Regions from separate parts of the Homo sapiens genome. Here region 1 is linked to region 2. Evidence: promoter capture Hi-C in human tissues and cell types (Jung and others, 2019). All regions are on one chromosome and are shown on one strand. The core of a region is centred on a gene start or on the middle of the fragment in contact, and the rest is flanking DNA. Distances in the headings are between cores, read along the strand shown. Region 1 overlaps NLRC5 (NLR family CARD domain containing 5). Region 2 holds the start of RSPRY1 (ring finger and SPRY domain containing 1).

What was found. The method cuts DNA at HindIII sites, captures the fragments that hold promoters and counts their contacts. A contact is called where the count stands out against the background at its distance.
Region 1: a fragment that was not itself captured here is called in contact with the fragment with the promoter of RSPRY1 in region 2 in 2 of the 25 tissues and cell types used here (lymphoblastoid cells and spleen).

The regions. Positions count from the first base shown.
Region 1 is chr16:57,023,743-57,027,276 of GRCh38, forward strand. NLRC5 (NLR family CARD domain containing 5) reads left to right here. Exons shown (of 49, transcript NM_001384950.1): 5 at 43-111; 6 at 1,626-3,276. Among named protein-coding and RNA genes, the nearest start is that of NLRC5, 36 kb to the left of the region's middle. RefSeq lists an enhancer at 2,709-3,227. The HindIII fragment of the contact is 7,248 bases long and covers 1-3,534 here.
Region 2 is chr16:57,184,400-57,187,639 of GRCh38, forward strand. RSPRY1 (ring finger and SPRY domain containing 1) reads left to right here and starts at 1,930. Exons shown (of 15, transcript NM_133368.3): 1 at 1,930-2,052. It overlaps PSME3IP1 (proteasome activator subunit 3 interacting protein 1), which reads right to left and starts at 1,640. Exons shown (of 7, transcript NM_024946.4): 1 at 1,422-1,640. RefSeq lists enhancers at 1,265-1,314, 2,626-3,240 and a silencer at 2,015-2,224. The HindIII fragment of the contact is 6,609 bases long and covers 1-3,240 here.

The sequences.
Region 1 (3,534 bases), core at 8-2,507, 160 kb before region 2:
TCCCCAGACCCCACTCCTCCACCCCTTCCTTTGCTTTTTCAGGCCTGAAGCGCCCACATCAGAGCTGTGGGTCCTCACCCCGCCGGAAGCAGTGCAAGAAGCAGCAGCTAGGTGGGTACCAGTGTGGGGAGGAACATAAACAGAGAGATGGGGTTGCCTGGGGGCCAAGACCCGGACCCTGGACCTTGTCCCCTGCCAATAAGCCTCCAGAGGCCCAGTGACTCTTGTCTCGCAAGTTTCCAGGAGAAAAGGACTGGAGGTCTTGCACAGGCAGAGGAGAGGCCTGGGCTGGCAGCGAAGGGGCTCCCCACCCATCTGGCTGCATGGGGACTTCTCTGAAGAGGGCTCCGCTGAAGGAGCTGGAAGCACCATACAGGTCTCAGCTTCGCTGTCCAGGCTTTTCCAGGGACACCCTATGTCCTCAGTGTTGAAGGAGACCCAGGGAGGAGACCAGTTTGGGGGTGAGCAGGGATGGGGAGGGGTGAGGAGGCCTGGGAGAAACCTTCAAGACAGAGGCCCTGGGGGCCCATGGGGAGACATGGAGCTGCTTAGGGCAGGCCAGGCCAGTGAGAGAAGAAAGGGGACTTCTCTCATTCTTGACCAGTTCTCAGAATGGTCCTCGTTCTCCACGAGTTGTCCCACTAACTAGAGCCTTCTCTGCCCCCACTGCTGCCAACCATGGCTATAACCAGAGGATTCACATCCGCTCAAAATAGTTCACTACCTTGGCCTTTCCCCATAGGGTTCCCCCAAAAGCAGCCCCAGCCCTTTCCCTGGGTCACCTGAGACCTCTCAATGACCCAGGAATTAAAAGGTTAACATCTGGCACTGTAGGGGCCCAGCTCCCACAGTTCCGATCGGTAATGCCTAGGCCTACAGGTTGTTAGTGCTCACCCCTGGGCATTGCAGAACTGAAATATTGGGAAGAGGCACTGGGGATCCAGATATTACAGAAAGAGGTTGTTTCAATAAGATATTGCAAAGTAGCTGGGCGCGGTGGCTCACACCTGTAATCCCAGCACTTTGGAGGGCTGAGGCAGGTGGATCAGTTGAGCCCAGGAATTCAATACTAGCCTGGCCAACGTGACAAAACCTTGTCTCTACTAAAAATACAAAAATTAGCTGGGTGTGGTGGTGTGCACCTGTAGTCCCAGCTACTCAGGAGGCTGAGGCAGGAGGATCACTTGAGACCAGGAGTTTGCGGCTACAGTAAGCTAGGATCGTGCCACTGCACTGGAGCCTGGGCAAGACTGAGACTCTGTCTCTGGGAAAAAAGAAAAAAAAGAGATGTTGCAAAGGAGGTGCCCTATTCCCCTCCCCCCATCTTACTGAACCCTTACACCACGTGTACTATTGCAGAATGGATAGAACCGTGACCCACACTTCCCCATTCCCACCTGCCTGTTTAAATAGCTACCGGAGAGCCTATGCTCCCTTAGAACTGATTCCTTCTGGAAGTTGGGGTGGCACAGATCCCCCTATGGTGCTCTTGACACCCCCACCCTCACCCCATCATACATACACATCTGGGGCTACAGGCTCCCAACAGCCCAATACTGGGGCAAGAAGACATGAGCAGAGGGCCGGGGGGTCCTCTCCTCATGCCATGTCCCTGCCCCTTGCAGAGTTGGCCAAGAAGTACCTGCAGCTCCTGCGGACCTCTGCCCAGCAGCGCTACAGGAGCCAAATCCCTGGGTCAGGGCAGCCCCACGCCTTCCACCAGGTCTATGTCCCTCCAATCCTGCGCCGGGCCACAGCATCCTTAGACACTCCGGAGGGGGCCATTATGGGGGACGTCAAGGTGGAAGATGGTGCTGACGTGAGCATCTCGGACCTCTTCAACACCAGGGTTAACAAGGGCCCGAGGGTGACCGTGCTTTTGGGGAAGGCTGGCATGGGCAAGACCACGCTGGCCCACCGGCTCTGCCAGAAGTGGGCAGAGGGCCATCTGAACTGTTTCCAGGCCCTGTTCCTTTTTGAATTCCGCCAGCTCAACTTGATCACGAGGTTCCTGACACCGTCCGAGCTCCTTTTTGATCTGTACCTGAGCCCTGAATCGGACCACGACACTGTCTTCCAGTACCTGGAGAAGAACGCTGACCAAGTCCTGCTGATCTTTGATGGGCTAGATGAGGCCCTCCAGCCTATGGGTCCTGATGGCCCAGGCCCAGTCCTCACCCTTTTCTCCCATCTCTGCAATGGGACCCTCCTGCCTGGCTGCCGGGTGATGGCTACCTCCCGTCCAGGGAAGCTGCCTGCCTGCCTGCCTGCAGAGGCAGCCATGGTCCACATGTTGGGCTTTGATGGGCCACGGGTGGAAGAATATGTGAATCACTTCTTCAGCGCCCAGCCATCGCGGGAGGGGGCCCTGGTGGAGTTACAGACAAATGGACGTCTCCGAAGCCTGTGTGCGGTGCCCGCACTGTGCCAAGTCGCCTGTCTCTGCCTCCACCATCTGCTTCCTGACCACGCCCCAGGCCAGTCTGTGGCCCTCCTGCCCAACATGACTCAGCTCTATATGCAGATGGTGCTCGCCCTCAGCCCCCCTGGGCACTTGCCCACCTCGTCCCTACTGGACCTGGGGGAGGTGGCCCTGAGGGGCCTGGAGACAGGGAAGGTTATCTTCTATGCAAAAGATATTGCTCCACCCTTGATAGCTTTTGGGGCCACTCACAGCCTGCTGACTTCCTTCTGCGTCTGCACAGGCCCTGGGCACCAGCAGACAGGCTATGCTTTCACCCACCTCAGCCTGCAGGAGTTTCTTGCTGCCCTGCACCTGATGGCCAGCCCCAAGGTGAACAAAGACACACTTACCCAGTATGTTACCCTCCATTCCCGCTGGGTACAGCGGACCAAAGCTAGACTGGGCCTCTCAGACCACCTCCCCACCTTCCTGGCGGGCCTGGCATCCTGCACCTGCCGCCCCTTCCTTAGCCACCTGGCGCAGGGCAATGAGGACTGTGTGGGTGCCAAGCAGGCTGCTGTAGTGCAGGTGTTGAAGAAGTTGGCCACCCGCAAGCTCACAGGGCCAAAGGTTGTAGAGCTGTGTCACTGTGTGGATGAGACACAGGAGCCTGAGCTGGCCAGTCTCACCGCACAAAGCCTCCCCTATCAACTGCCCTTCCACAATTTCCCACTGACCTGCACCGACCTGGCCACCCTGACCAACATCCTAGAGCACAGGGAGGCCCCCATCCACCTGGATTTTGATGGCTGTCCCCTGGAGCCCCACTGCCCTGAGGCTCTGGTAGGCTGTGGGCAGATAGAGAATCTCAGGTGAGTAAGAGTGGAGGAGGACCGGGGAGGGGATTGGGCTTTTGGGGGAGCAGAGGCCAACCAGTCTAGCAAACCTCTGCCAAGAGGACTGGATAAGAATCTTGAATATCAGAACATAATGGCCTGCAATGCAAGAGAGGAAGCTCCATACCTTGACAGGACCTCTGGAGTCCAAATGGATCCTCCTCTTGTCTGTGGTTTCTGGACTCTCAGTCTCTCTGTCAATCATGGGCTGAAACCACAGATCCAGGCTGTCTA
Region 2 (3,240 bases), core at 680-3,179:
TAGTGGAAATACAGAAAACCAAACACAAAACAATCTTTTTTTTAAACTTGTCGATACTTGATTTTAGACAAAACAATCTTAACAACATATTCTATAGTAAAGAGTGAAACATAATATTTAAGAATGAAGACAAAGTATGTTCAAAAGGTGACTAATGGTGAACACGTTGAAAATGCTTAATTTAGCTGCCATAAAGGCATAATTACACTATGACTGACCCTGTACGTACATCGCACTTGTTACTTGATTTACCACATACGTGGTTTTCAATAGCTAAAGCAGCAGCTTGATTCTAACCAAGCATCACCATTCTTGGAAGATGAAAGTGAAGACTGATAATCAACTAAATGGTTTTGACACAATTATTCCTTTCTTATATCATGAAGCACTTCCCCACAGGGTAAGGACATGAAGACTTCAGTTGAGAAAGATAATCGGGCAGCCTCTACTTTCAGATCCTTACAAATTGTTCGCAGGTCATCTAACTAAAAGACTGTAAAAGCTGCTGTCGGCTCAATACTTTGTATCAAAAAGGAGTCTACCCACTGATTCCCTTCAAATATTTCAGAAGGGTGCCTTCCATTTTATGGTGTCCCTGTGGACACATGAATACACCAAATAACTGATGAATCGACAAATCTTATGTCACAGGTGGTAGGCAAGAGGTCATCGGGAATTCCGATCACCAGGCTCGCATCTGGCTTCTTGGGTCCCACTCCTGAACTAACCAGTCGGGCTACCCGAGCGTGCGGGAGTCTGAGAAACTGCATTTTAAAAGGGCCCCAGGAGATCTTGTTTTCCACTAACATTAAAGAACCACGACTACGAACAAACAGGTCTCCCCCTTTCCTCTGTGTGGACTGACAGTCACAAGGACCACCAACTCTCAAGCATGACGCTTCAACTCTCTTTGTTTCTTAAGTTTTCTGCAAAACGGGCCAGCTGGCTTGTTTTCCGTAATAGAAAATTCGCTTGGCACAGCAACTGGTACATGGCACACAATAAATGTGCTTCCCATCCTGCACTGCCATTCTGGGATTCAACCATTTCCAACCAGACGCCGCACATCCGAGTGAGTAACCTGGACCTGTTCCAAGACCTCTGGAACGGAGCCTGCTACTCACTTGAAACCTGGGTGGCCCTACCTAGCAGAAAATTGGGGAAACCCCATTAAACGCCCGGCAGTGTTGGGCCCGCCTGAAAGGGTCCTCGCCGCGACCCAGATGCCTTCCCGCGGGCACCCTCAGCTCCCCTCAGGCTGGGCCCGCAAGCCCCAGGCTTCGGCTACTCCGGACAAGGAGCGGGTGCGCGGACTGAGAACAGGCCTGGCCCTAACCCTAACAGCAGCCGCAGCTCATCTCTTCCGTAAGGAAGCTGGAACCCAGGTGTCGCCGCCAGGCCAGGACCGAGGCCGCACTCACCTACCGGCGCGCGGGAGGCGAGACGACCTCACCTCGGCGGCGCCCACCCCAAACCGCCACCGCAGAGCCGCTCGCTCTTAAAAAAGAAAAAAAAATGAAAGGAAGAAAGAAAGAAACAGAGGAAGGAATGAATGAAAGAAAGAAAAAAAAAAAGAAAATAGCCTTTGCTTTTGTATTTCTTTTGACCCTTCAGGGCTTCCTGTTCCTCACCGCCACAATAGAGTCCCGCCCCACTTCCGGCGACGTAACCCAATCCGCGGAGCTCTTCCTCCCCGGGAGCCCGATGGAAATCCGGTACCCTGAAAACGAGCCGGAGAGACTTGATTGGGCCATTCACGCCTCAGGATGAGGACTGGCCAGTCTGCGCCTGGAGGGCGGGCCGGTCCCGCTGATCACGTGACACGATTTTTGAAAGGTGATTGGCTGTCAAGGAGAGGGCTTGCCACCGAGGAAGGGGCGTTTCCTAGGGGACTGAGGGAGGGCTGGGGCGGTACGAAGCGGGGGTGGGCTCTGCGCGTAATGGCAGCGCCGTGGCCTCGCGTCCATCTTTGCCGTTCTCTCGGACCTGTCACAAAGGAGTCGCGCCGCCGCCGCCGCCCCCTCCCTCCGGTGGGCCCGGGAGGTAGAGAAAGTCAGTGCCACAGCCCGACCGCGCTGCTCTGAGCCCTGGGCACGCGGAACGGGAGGGAGTCTGAGGGTTGGGGACGTCTGTGAGGGAGGGGAACAGCCGCTCGAGCCTGGGGCGGGCGGACCGGACTGGGGCCGGGGTAGGCTCTGGAAAGGGCCCGGGAGAGAGGTGGCGTTGGTCAGAACCTGAGAAACAGCCGAGAGGTTTTCCACCGAGGCCCGCGCTTGAGGGATCTGAAGAGGTTCCTAGAAGAGGGTGTTCCCTCTTTCGGGGGTCCTCACCAGAAGAGGTTCTTGGGGGTCGCCCTTCTGAGGAGGCTGCGGCTAACAGGGCCCAGGTGAGAGGCAGCTATCTATCTCCTGGGGTGGCTCCTGGTACCGATGGGGTCCTGACCTACTCAGGGGTGCCCGGGATAGAAAGGGTAGATGAAGGGACGCTTTAGGAGGGTTCTTTTTGTGGAGTTTACGGTCTAGGTGGCACGGATGAGGCATACCTCCCCGGGGAGATTTAGAAACGCCTTGGGATAGAGAGAGAATGGGGCTAGGAAGCAGGAGCTAGAACTAGCGGAATGTCCTACTACGGAAGCCGGAGCTGAAAATTGGGTAAGGACCTTGGGGAGAGGGGATTTCTGGGCGGTGATGGGAAGAAGACACCTCCATCCACAGGAAAGCCAGAGTGGGGAGTAGTGAAAGGGAAACGGGAATTATTCCCTCTCTCTGTAGATCGACCAGGTGTCCCAGACACAGGATCCAACTGCTTCCGGGCTTATTGCCCGAGTGGGGTGGGGAGAGTCTATCCCACCAACACCCCTTGCGTGAGTCCAAATTAGGCATTTGTCTCTCCTGCTGCCTCACTTTCCCCGTCTTTGGGGAGGGAAACCGACTGAGACCGAGGCGGTCGGCTGAGACTCCGAGGTCCTGTCTTGTATAGTTCTCTGAGAGAGGTTGCTCCCCCTGGAGTGTTGTACTTTGAACTTTGAAGGGTTAGAAGTGTCTGTTATCGACTGAGTAGAATCCCGCAGTTTTCCAGGCCCTTTACCTACCATCTGTTCTTGCTTAGTGGAGTGACTTAACCTCCTTAAGTCTCTACTGTAAAATAACCAGCGCAGTATGTGAAAGTACAAATTACAAGCTGCGTGAACGTAAGTTAGTGTGATTCTACCACCAAACGGGTTGCTGTTGAGGAATAAAA